Linked DNA regions of Homo sapiens: region 2 is linked to region 1. Evidence: promoter capture Hi-C in human tissues and cell types (Jung and others, 2019). All regions are on one chromosome and are shown on one strand. The core of a region is centred on a gene start or on the middle of the fragment in contact, and the rest is flanking DNA. Distances in the headings are between cores, read along the strand shown. Region 1 holds the start of SF3A1 (splicing factor 3a subunit 1). Region 2 overlaps LOC105372988 (a long non-coding RNA gene).

The links. Contacts are between HindIII fragments. The study calls those that stand out against the background at their distance.
Region 2: a contact is called between a fragment that was not itself captured here and the fragment with the promoter of SF3A1 in region 1, in 1 of the 25 tissues and cell types used here (spleen).

The regions. Positions count from the first base shown.
Region 1 is chr22:30,354,102-30,359,872 of GRCh38, forward strand. SF3A1 (splicing factor 3a subunit 1) reads right to left here and starts at 2,793. Exons shown (of 16, transcript NM_005877.6): 1 at 2,629-2,793. The coding sequence starts at 2,691. CCDC157 (coiled-coil domain containing 157) reads left to right here and starts at 2,906. Exons shown (of 12, transcript NM_001017437.5): 1 at 2,906-3,031. RefSeq lists a silencer at 2,490-2,739 and an enhancer at 3,675-4,274. The HindIII fragment of the contact is 21,616 bases long and covers 1-5,771 here.
Region 2 is chr22:30,179,630-30,185,250 of GRCh38, forward strand. LOC105372988 (a long non-coding RNA gene) reads right to left here. Exons shown (of 3, transcript NR_188588.1): 3 at 3,189-5,152. It also overlaps a transcript of HORMAD2 not described here. Among named protein-coding and RNA genes, the nearest start is that of LIF-AS1, 57 kb to the right of the region's middle. The HindIII fragment of the contact is 3,672 bases long and covers 867-4,538 here.

The DNA.
Region 1 (5,771 bases), core at 1,543-4,042:
GATCCCATAAGTACCAATATTTTTTCACCAGCAGCTTCTTCCCCTTAGTAAACAAAGGGTCAAGTCTCTTATCTTAGAGAAACGAAGTTTCTCCTCTGCCTTCATGTTCTTTTCTGCCGCTGCCTTCTCCCACACCTTCCTCTGGCAGCTAAACATCCTGAGTTCTCTTCAGTCTTGCTGGTCCCACTTCCCTGCCTCCCATCTGGTCCCCATTCATTTTAAGTGCTCTTGACAAAGTCAAAAACAACTGCCCACAGCCATTATCTGGGCGTGAATGGTGACCACTCCTTCACAAAACTCTCAACTCCTAGGCCCCATTCTTGCCTGTCTTCCCATCTTGCTCACCATTCCATTCAAGTTTCCTTCCTGACCCGTTTCACCTCCTGCACTGTGAAGCTGGAGATCCCCACTCCCACCGCCCAATTCTGTTCTTGGTTCTCTTCTCAGTTTTTGGTGTCCTCCACTTCCCCTTCCGCCTCTAGACTAAACAATCTGGCCCAAACTGATGTCCCAGAACACTCTTGTGTACTAAACAGCTTCAGGTGCAGCTAACTACTGGGCACTTTCATCTCTAACCTCTTTCCTCAGGAATAGCTACCCAGTCACCCATGCCAGAAAGTTGGGGGCTCCTCTCTCTTCCTCAGCTTCCACACTCGATGATAATAACGTTTATCAAGTTGGGCACAATGGCTTGCACCTATAATCCCGGTGACTCAGGAGGCTGAGGTAGGAAGATTGCTTGAGCCCAAGAATTCAAGGCTGCAGTAAGCTATGACTGCACCACTGCATTCCAGCCTGGGTGACAGAACGACACCCGGTCTCTTAAAAAAAACTTTTATCAAGCTATGAGTAGATCCCAGGTATTTTTCCCAAGCACTTTAAATATATTAACTCTTATAACCTTTAGAAGAAGCCTATAAGATTAAGTACTCTTTTTTTTTTTGAGACAGTCTCTTGCTGTCGCCCAGGCTGGAGTGCAGCGGCATGATCTTGGCTCATTGCAACTTCTGCTTCCCAGGTTCAAGCAATTCTCTCCCGAATAGTGGGGATTACAAACATGCACCACCACACCTGGCTAATTTTTTATTTTTAGTAGAGACAGTTTTGCTATGTTGGCCAGGCTGGTCTCAAACTCCTGACCTCAAGTGATCTGTCTGCCTCGGCCTCCCAAACTGCTGGAATTACAGGCGTGAGCCACTGGACCCGGCCAAGAACTCTTAATATCTCCACATTACAGATGACAAAACTGAGAGATGGAGAGCTTAATGTCCAACTGGCAGAACCAGGATTCTAACACACCACTCTGGCTGAAGAGCCTGCCTACCCCCTCTGCCCTAATCTCGGCCAGGCCTTCAGCCTCTTTGGAATAGCGTGACTGGCCTCCCCTCATAGTGATTCTCCACACGTCTGCCTACCTGAATTTCTGAAACACAAATGTCACTATTTGGCTTAAAACACTCCCTTTTCTTCCCACTGTCTACAAGGAAAAGTTCAAATCCTAAGTAAGAATCGCATCTCCTGCCACTACGCTCCTAAGTCTATGCTTCAACACTTGTTCATTTACTCTTGATCAGAGACACCGTTTGATTCACCTCGGTGTCTTTGCGCATATTATCTGGCTATTACCTTATTTTCCCCCAATGCCTGGGAAAATGCCAGGGACACACGGGCACTTAAATATTTGTGGAAAAGGCATGGCTTCTTCAGTCATGTTCCCCCCCCCCGCCCCCCTTATTCTGAACCCAAAGCAATGATCAGCGTATGTGTTCAATAAATATTTGCTGGATGAATAAAGGATGCTATTTCCCTTCCCTAGTCACCTACCTGGCAAACTCCTATTCCTTCTTCTAAAAGAAATTTACCTCTCACTCTTGTGGGCTTCCCTACCTTAATATCCCTTCTAGCCCAGCAAACAATGTTCATTAGATTTGTACCTGAAACTTCTATCACAGGGCATATCACACCATACTACAATGGTTTGTGCACATTCGAGATTGGAGAGCTTTATTAAGGGCGGGCTGGCACTGTATCATCGATGGCCATTGGGACAACAAACATTTGGTGAGCATTCTCATATGTCTGTCTTCTCGTTAGCCTGTGAGCTCCCTAGGCAGGGACCATGCCCCATTCATTCCGGTAATGTGGGAGCCTGGCACGGTGTCTGGCTTGGGGCAGACACCGAAATAGATGCTGAGAATTAACATCCAAAGATGTACCGTGCAGGCTGGGAAATTAGCCATTACTGGGGAAAGGCTGTGGCCGGCGGCCCCAACTGCTACATAAGATCAGAGGATGGGCTGGATCAGCGCCTCTCGCACTTATAAATCAATCACCTTAGGATTTTGTTCAAATGTAGATTCCTATTTAAAAGATCTACGGCGGAGACTCCACATTTCTAAGAAGCTCCCGGCTCGTGCCGACGGGGCTGCTCCGCGGACCACTTAGAGAATCCCGTTCAGGGTGGCTCATTTCGCTACCAGAACACCACCATAGCGCGGGAAGCGCGCAGCCTCTTGGGACTTGCAGTCCCTCCAAGCCCTTCATAGCGGCCGGCCGCTTATTCCTGTGCGAGTAAGGAGCGCCCAGGCCAACCCTCCGGCTGCAGGCTGAGGGGCGGGGGAGAGGTACCTGTTTGGGCTCCGTGGGCACGGGCGGCGGCGGGGGCACCGCCTGCACGGGTCCGGCCGGCATGACTGCGACGCTCAGGGCTGCCAGTCCGCCTCGGTGTCGGTGAGCGGTGCCGCCTCAAGACAGCCTCCCCGCTCGGTCAGTACGACGAGCTCGCAAGATGGCGGCGGCCGAGCGAGTTGCGGCCGCGAAGGTACGACTGGCGCACTTCCGGGACCGTCCCCTCGCCGTGACGCGCTTCCCGCCCCTCCCCGCGGGCACCGCGGCGTCCGACGCCGTTGCCAAGGCAGCGGCCTGAGCGCCCGGCTAGGGCTTTTCGGGGATCCCGGTGGCCGCAGGCGCACCGGGGGCAGTTCCGGGAGCCGACCAGACACGAAGGCTGAAGCCGCGACGCCGAAGACAGGTGAGATGTTGTACGTCACCCGCCGGACCCCCGCCGCACTCACCTCGCGGCTCCTTTACTCCACAGGCCAGTACCTCGCTCCCTTCGACCCCGCCTTCCAAGAGCCCAGCTCCCTCCCATTGGTCTCTCATTTAGGAGAGCCCCTGTCCCCTCAGGCTCACCGCCTAAGAGCCCCACTTCCCTACTCCCTTAGTCCCCCCTTTCATTTCAGACCCACATCCTCCAAGCCCCGCTTCCAAATCCTACGCCCTTAATTCGCTTTTCCCACGGAACCTGCCTTTTCTTGCTTCCATCCCCTGCCTTCCGTAGTCCCGCCCTCAAGCCCCACTGGGGGCCTCCCTCTCAAATCAAGGCTGCTGCTTTCTTTGTCTTTCTTTTTTCTTTTTTTCTGAGACAAGGTCTTGCTCTGTCACCCAGGCTGGAGTGCAGTGGCGCGATCTTGACTCTCTGCAACCTCCGCCTCCCGAGTTCAAGCGATTCTCCTGCCTCAGCCTCCCGAGTGGCTGGGACTACAGGCGCCCACCACACCCGGCTAATTTTTTTTTTTTTTTTTTTGGCATTTTTAGTAGAGACGGGGTTTCACCATGCTGGCCAGGCTGGTCTGGAACTCCTGACCTCAAATGATCCGCCCGCCTCGGCTTCCCAAAGTGTTAGGGTTACAGGCGTGAGCCACCGCGCCCGGCCAGTTTTTAAATTTTTTTTTTTGTAGGGACATGGGAGGACGTCTCCCTATGTTGCCCAGGCTGGTCTCAAACTCCTGGGGTCAAGCGATCCTCCCGCCTTGGCCTCCCAAAGTGCTGGGATTACACGCATGAGCCATCACGCAGGGCTGCTGCTTTAGGCTTCACCCCTCACTCTCACAGATGCAGCCCTGCAAGCTATGCGGCTCGCTCCCCAGAGGCCTACCTCGAATCCCGCCGGCTTCTCTCCCTCTCCTGCGATTCCCCCCTCTCTCCTTCCTCCTCTCCTCAACTCTGGAAAGCGGGGAGCTGGCTCCGAACCTGTTCCTGGACTTCAGTTTCCTCACCTGTGAAATGAGGGAGTGATAGGAAAGGTTGCTCTCTCAAGTCTTCCCCCTCCCCCCACACACATCGTAGCTGTGTGTCATGGTTGTTATTAATGTAGAATAATGATAGCTGGGATGTATTGGTCATTTACTATGAGCCGGATACTGTGCCCAACACTTCATGTGTTACGTCATTTATTCCTTATAGCAACCTATTTACAAATGAGGACAGTGAAGTTTGGAGTTGGTAGAGTGGGAATGCAAGTTCAAGCCAGTCTTATTCCTCTACTAGTGCAGTTAGTTATTTTGCCCTCAGTCCCTTCAGTATCCCCAGGGATCCAGGCAATTAACAATCTCATGTTTGAGACTGACATCTGCCACATAGCTGGTTTTAGAGTTTCCCGTGTTTTCATGGTGGTGGCTTTGAATCTCACCAGGCACCCTGGCTGGGAAGTAGGCATCATCTTTACCGAGTAGGGTTAGGGTACTAGTTCTGAGAGAGAGAAGGCGCTTGAATGTTGAACGGAAATGCAGGAAAGGCTCCTGCTCTTCTCTGGGAGTCAAAAGTCCACCTTGAGCCCCAGGAAATTGAGGAGAGGCAGAGATAGCTGCTGCTCCTCCCTAAGGGCTCAATTAGTGCTGTCACCTATGTGGTCATGGGTACAGTGCCGGGCTGGCAGCTTCAGACTGAGGGTTCCACTCAAGACCCAGGAATTGCAGAAAGAGCTCACGTCAAGTGCTTCTTCACTTGACACACACATAAAGTACTTCTTAAACTATGCTTGTATCTGCATGACTTCAATTTTCAGAAGAAACAACATAAGGTCATCTTGGATTTTCCTGACACTTGGGCATTTGCTGCTGCTTATCTGATCCAGGATCTACTGGGAGTTGATATCCAGGATGGCCCCATGTGGCAGCTATAGTTATTTGAAGGTGAACAGATCAGTGTTTCCTGGTGCCTTCACAAGCAAGCTTATGAATTCCAGATGCTTTGCCACCTGAATACACTTTCTCCCAGGTTGGGGGCTTCTTGATTTCTTTATTTCTTTCATGCCCATTCCAGGAAGGAAACCCAGAATACTTCCGTGTGTTATTTTGCCTTTGTTTCTGCCTCCCTCCTTGGAGACATAAAATCTCTTGGGCAGCAGTAGTTCATTGGCAGTTGCCAAGACAACAGGAGTGTAGGATGTGGGCATGTGTGTTGTGAGTATCATGGGGCAGACACGTATCCCTTGGGTGATATCCCATGGGTGAAACTGGCACACACAAGCTTACCCCTTGCGGAGACCCTCAGATATCACTGGTAGTTCCTGGAGGACAGGGCTCCTTGTGCCCTGCTGTGTTCCTGGTCTTGACGTAGTGCCTGGTATGGAACAGATACTCAGTCCTCATTTGCTGAATGCACACACAGCATCCAACCCTCTGCACCGTCCAATACAGTAGCTACCAGCCAACACAGATTTTGAACATTTGAAATGGTTTCTGGTCCAAATGGCCATGTGTTGTCAAACAGGCATTAGATTTTGAGACTTAATACCATAAAAATGTTAAAAATCTCCTTAATAATTTTATATTGATATGTTGAAATGATAATGTTTTGGGTATATTGGGTTAAATAAAATATGCTGTTAAAATTAAAGTTAATTGACCTTTATTTTTACTCTTTTTAATGTGTAGGGGAGAAAAAGTAATATATTTTCCTCACTCATTGCAAGTTTAATAAAAGATTAA
Region 2 (5,621 bases), core at 1,453-3,952, 170 kb before region 1:
TTTTGCCGTCTGGGAGGAGCAAACTCAGTCTTACAGTAGGTGGTGGCTCACAGGTACCACTGGCTATGTGTAAACTATTCCTTTGCAACCTGGCTGGAAGTTGCACATGAGATTTGCTCAATAGAGGATGTTGAGAAAGGGATTGGCCAGCGTTTCTGGTAATAGGCTGATTTACTCAGCTTCAGGGCTTTTTCCTGTGTTATAATTCCATCATGTTATCCCAGATCCTTTAGTAGTAAAGTAGTAAAGTCTCATTAAACTTTTATTTTATTTTATTTTGAGATGGTCTCACTCTGTCACCCAGGCTGGAGTATAGTGGTGCAATCATGGCTCACTACAGCCTTGACCTCCCAGGTTCAAGTGATCCTCCCACCTCAGCCTCCCAAGTAGCTAGAACTACAGGTACATGCCACCATGCCCAGATAATTTTTGTATTTTTTAGTAGAGATGAGGTTTTGCCATGTTGCCCAGGCTGGTCTCAAACTCCTGGGCTCAAACAATTTGCCCGCCTCAGCCTCCCAGAGTGCTGGGATTACAGATGTGAGCCAGCATGCCCAGGCTCATTAAACATTTTAGTCTGGACTTACCTGTGCCATGAGGTTCAGCAGTGCATGGGTTTTTCCATGGCAGGAGTGGAGAGGCAGGCTGCTTGAGATAGCCAGAAACATCTATGGGGCACTAGTGGAGCATTCCTTGGGGTCTCAGACACTTAGAAACCTGGTATAAGAGTGGATTTTAAGGGGTTGTTGTTTGGGTATTTCAGGACTCCTGAAGGCTGGTGAAGTCTGGAGCATCTAGGTTCCATATGGGTAATTACTAATTGGCTCTAGGGTAAGCAAGCAAAGTTAGTTTTTCATCTTCCTTTTAGCAAGGTAGTGAAGAAAAAGCCTAGGCTGCTAGATTCAAAACCTCTCATTTTCTAGATAAGATATTTCATCTCTCTAGCCCCCAGTTTATTCGATCTATAAAATCTGAATAATAATTACACCTATTTCATACTTTTGTGAGATTTAAGCAAGCGGATTCAAGTAAACTGCCCTGCACACATATAGTCACTACTCATCGTGATGGCTGCTTTTTAACTCTTAGCGTGTCCACTTTGTCTCCAGGAACTTAGGATTCCTTCTTTCTTCCCCTTCCCTTCCCTTCCTTTCCCTTCCCTTCCCTTTTTCTCTTCCCTTCTTCCCTTCCTTTCCCCCCTTCCCTTCTTCCCTTCTCTTCCCTTCTTCCCTTCCCTTCTTCCCTTCCCTTTCCCTTTCCCTTCCTTCCCTTTCCCTTTCCCTTTCCCTTCCCTCTCCTCTCCTCTCCTCTCCTCTCCTCTCCTCTCCTCTCCTCTCCTCTCCTCTCCTCTCCTCCCCTCTCCTCCCCTAACCTACCCTACCCTACCCTACCCTCCCTCCCTCTCTTCTCTTCTCTTTTTGACAAGGTTTCATTCTATCACCCAGGCTGGAGTGCAGTGGAGCCTCAACTTCCCAGGCTCAAGCAATTCTCCCACCTCAGCCTCCTCCTAAGTAGCTGGGACTACACACATGTGCTACTATGCTTGGCTAATTTTTGTGTTTTTTGTAGAGACGGGGTTTTGCCACGTTGCCCAGGCTGGTCTTGAACTCCTGGGCTCAAGCTATCTGCCCACCAAAAGTGCTGGGATTACAGGTGTGAGCCACTGCACCTGGCCTCAGGAGTTTGGATTTCTATGCTGCTTTTTGCCTACCCAGAGCTCCTACATCAACAGCCTGTGCAAGCCTGGGGCCAGCACTTGAACCATGCTTCCAATTGCCTCTGTTCTCAGAACCCTCCCCACTCCTTTCCCTAAATCGAAACTCCCTTTCCATCAAGATAGTTCAATGGGAGAGAAGCATCAGACGAAGCTTAATATGCTGCCCTCCCACATTTGCATTTTAAAACAGAAGCTTGTTAATTAGAAAAATGAATCTCACCTAGGGATTGTGATATGAGAACAGACTGAATAAACAAGGAAGAAGAAAGTTTAAAGGGAACTTTGTAGCTGTCTTTAAATTTATGAAAGTCTGTCATAAAATGCAGGTAACCACAGACACATTCTGTGTTGTTCCAAAGCGTAGAACATAGACCCAATGGGAGGACATCCCAGGGATGCGGATTTGGCCTCAACCTATTAAAGAATTTTCCCCCAATGCTCTAGCAAATTGCCTGGCACATGGAAGGCAATCAACATTTGACTGTTTTTGATAGCAATGAAAACTGTCAGATGGTGACTGCTTCTGGCTGTAATGAGTTCCTTATCACCGGAAGTGTTCAAGACTAGTTGTGCAAGATGTCCATTCGGATAAGAATTGAACCAACTGAATACTGTAGTCTCTTCTAGCTATAAAACTCAGTGACACTTCTATAAATAGTTGAATTTCAATGGAGATTTTAGAGCAAAGGAACATTTTATCAATCCTTTTTCCAAAAGGCAGCAAAGTGGTTAAAACTGAGGGTTCTGGAGTTAGACGTTATCTGGGTTCAAACCCTGGTCACCCTACTTACTAGCTGTATGACTCTGTTCGACAATTTTAATGTTTTACTTGCTATCTCTGTACATCAGCTTCCTTATCTGTGAAATGGGGGCAATAGTAGTGTCTTTCTCACAGAGCTATTGTGAGAGCTCAATGAGTTAATACAGGAAAAGCACTTAGAAGAATAGCTGGCACATAGAAAGTTAATGTTCAATAAACATTAGTTATGAGGTATCATCTGATACCCTTGCCACTTCTACAGCTTTTTACGTCTTTTCAGTATGTGGAGGGAGGTCCTTTGTAGCATAATTGACCCTGACCTTGTTTTTTCCTAAATCAGATGCCAGCCATGGCCACTGTGATTAACCAGTGGACTTTCTATCTCCTAAAAGCAAGCTTTAAAGCTAAACAAGCGACAGGGCTGGTGACGTGCAGTTTATGAAGGATCTGCCAATGAAACACAATCATGGCTGTGGACACCCTAACCCTGCTATGTGCCTGACAAGTGATAGATAACCAGTAAATATTTGTTGAATGAGCTGGGTGCAGTGGTGTGTGTCTGTTGTCCCAGCTACTCAGGAGGCTGAGGCGGGAGGATTGCTTGAGCCCAAGAGTTTGAGACCAGCCTGGGTAACACAGCAAGATTCCATCTTTAAAAAATAAACAAATAAACAAAAATAAAATATGTGTTGAATGAATAGATTAACTCGGTAGGGTTTTATTATTTTTATTTATTTATTTTTGATCAGGTAATACATTCACATGATTTAAAATTCAAAAGGAACAAAAGGATATATAAAGAAAAACCTCCCTCCCACCCAGTCCCTCAGCCATCCAGTTTCCTTCCCCATAGGGAACTAACATAAACGCTTTCTCATATGTCTTTCCAGAGCTATTTTAGGCATAAACAAGCAAACATACTTGCTTACGCACATTTATTTCTTTCCCTCCCTTTTAAACAAATGGCTCATATACTGTTCTAGGCATGATTATTGAAGTAGCCCCAGAAATGGGAGTGAGCATGGGTACGCCAAGGAGGAATTAAAAAAGAAAGAGCTCAGGGACAGAAAAATCAACCAGGAGACTATTGCATTAATACAGATGTAAGGCGATTAGAGCCTGGACTAGTATATTAAATGGGATAATCAGGGAAACAATTGTTTGAATGTTTTTTAACTTACACTGGGGTAACCACTATATAGAGTATTTCTGTCACCCCAGAAGTTCCCTTGTGTCCCTTTGCCGCCAGCCCACCCTCCCCAGGCCCAGGCACCAACTCCTCTGCTTTGTCAGAGTTTTTCAGCTTTCGTGTTACAGGCCTGCATGCCCGTGGTGGGACCTCCACTCAGCAGAGTTAATCACAATACCAGTCAACATCAGTGGCACTTACTCCAGGCCAGACACTCCATTAAGCACCTACATGTGCTCATTCATTTAATCCTCTTCACCAACTGAAGCAGGTACTGCTTTTATCTCAATTTCTGATAAGATATCTAAGATACAGAGAAGTTAAATCACTTGATGAAGGTCACACAGTTAGTACATAGCAAAGTCAGAATTTTGAACTCAGAACAATCGGCTTCCAGTGATCATATGTAAAAATAATATAAGAAAATATTCAGACCCACACAGAAAGAGTTCATTGCTATTCATCGAGATTCAGAGGGAAGACCAATCCTTAGTAGGTTGATATAGAAGGAAGTTGTCCAGAAGCCTTCAAGTGTACTTTTAACTTGTCAGTTAAAAGAAAGCCAGTAGCCTTACTTCATAGGCATTAGCCAGTGGGCAGATTTTCACTTCATTCCCCTGCCTTCAATGTGCACAACCCCATGATGTTTTCTTCTAAGAAATTATAACATTTAGAACTATCTCTGTATGTTAAAGAATTGGTGTGGTCAGGGCATTACTGAGAATGACAAGTATCTCTCCCTATCTGTGGGTCCCAGAATATGCATGTCATTCTGAAACCACAAGGAATGCGGTTAAATCCTCTGGTCGCATCTCTCAACAAAGATTTAGCTGTTTCACTGTTGCCTCCAAAGAGCTTTTTTCCTGGACTAAGATGTTAATTCACAGTGATGTCTACTAATGGGTCTTCCATAAAGAGGAGTCTATTAAAGGAATTAATTACATTACATGTTCAGAAACTTCCCAGCATAATGAAATGACTCTCTAGCTGAAATAGTATGAGAAGGAAACCATTGAACTAAATCATAATGGAGACAAGTTTCCATAAAGTGAAATGCAAGTTTGCTAATATAACTGTAGACTATGAGAGACAGAACAGTGAAAATGCTAATAATGAAACTTTTCACTCACTGATGGAGTTTTATTAAATATAGATCATCTTTTTCCAAACATTTCAAGTTACTTATCATCTTCTATTTGAGGCCTAAGTTTGCCACTTATTAACATTGTCAATTAACCTTAAAATGCTATTTTAATGTTTTGGTTTTTTTTTAAACAAGAAAATAGTTGTCCTCAGTCAACATAGAATAAAAGAAAATAGACTCAGGTTGCATTCGATGGCATTCAAATTCCAGAGGAGGTGGTAGAACGATCTATTCTGGAAATCTAGGTTGGTTTTGACACCGTGCTGCCTAAAGCCTGGGGAGTAGATTAGATGACTTTCTGCTCTCTTATTCCACAGTATGGTCCATTTTCACACTGCAAATCTACAGAAATGATAATAGCAGAAGAAAAAGATAACAGCAGGTTAAGTGTGGTGCTAGGGATTGTGCTGGCAACTGGCAAACCACCAATTCATTGGTTTCTAGGTAGATATGGGACAGTGGTGCAAGGCAGGGTAACATGGAATATTCATTACAGTCAAAGTCTGGATTGTAATCTTAATCTTGGTTCTCCCTTTATTTCTGGACAAGTCTCTTAGTTCTCTATTCCACTGTTTCTTTAGTTGCAAAATGTGGATAGTGAACCTGTCTTTCCACCTAGGGTTTTTAACAACCAGGAGATAGAAGCAGTGGGTTATGACAGTCTACTCTAAATCTGGCACAGTACCTGTGATCCCTCTGCCTGGGCTCTGGGATAGTTTGGAGGAGGAATGGAGGGTTCCCTTGAGGGACCAGCCCATTCATCATCAGTGGTTCTAGAGAGATCCTGATCCCAGGAACCAGGAGAGCCTGG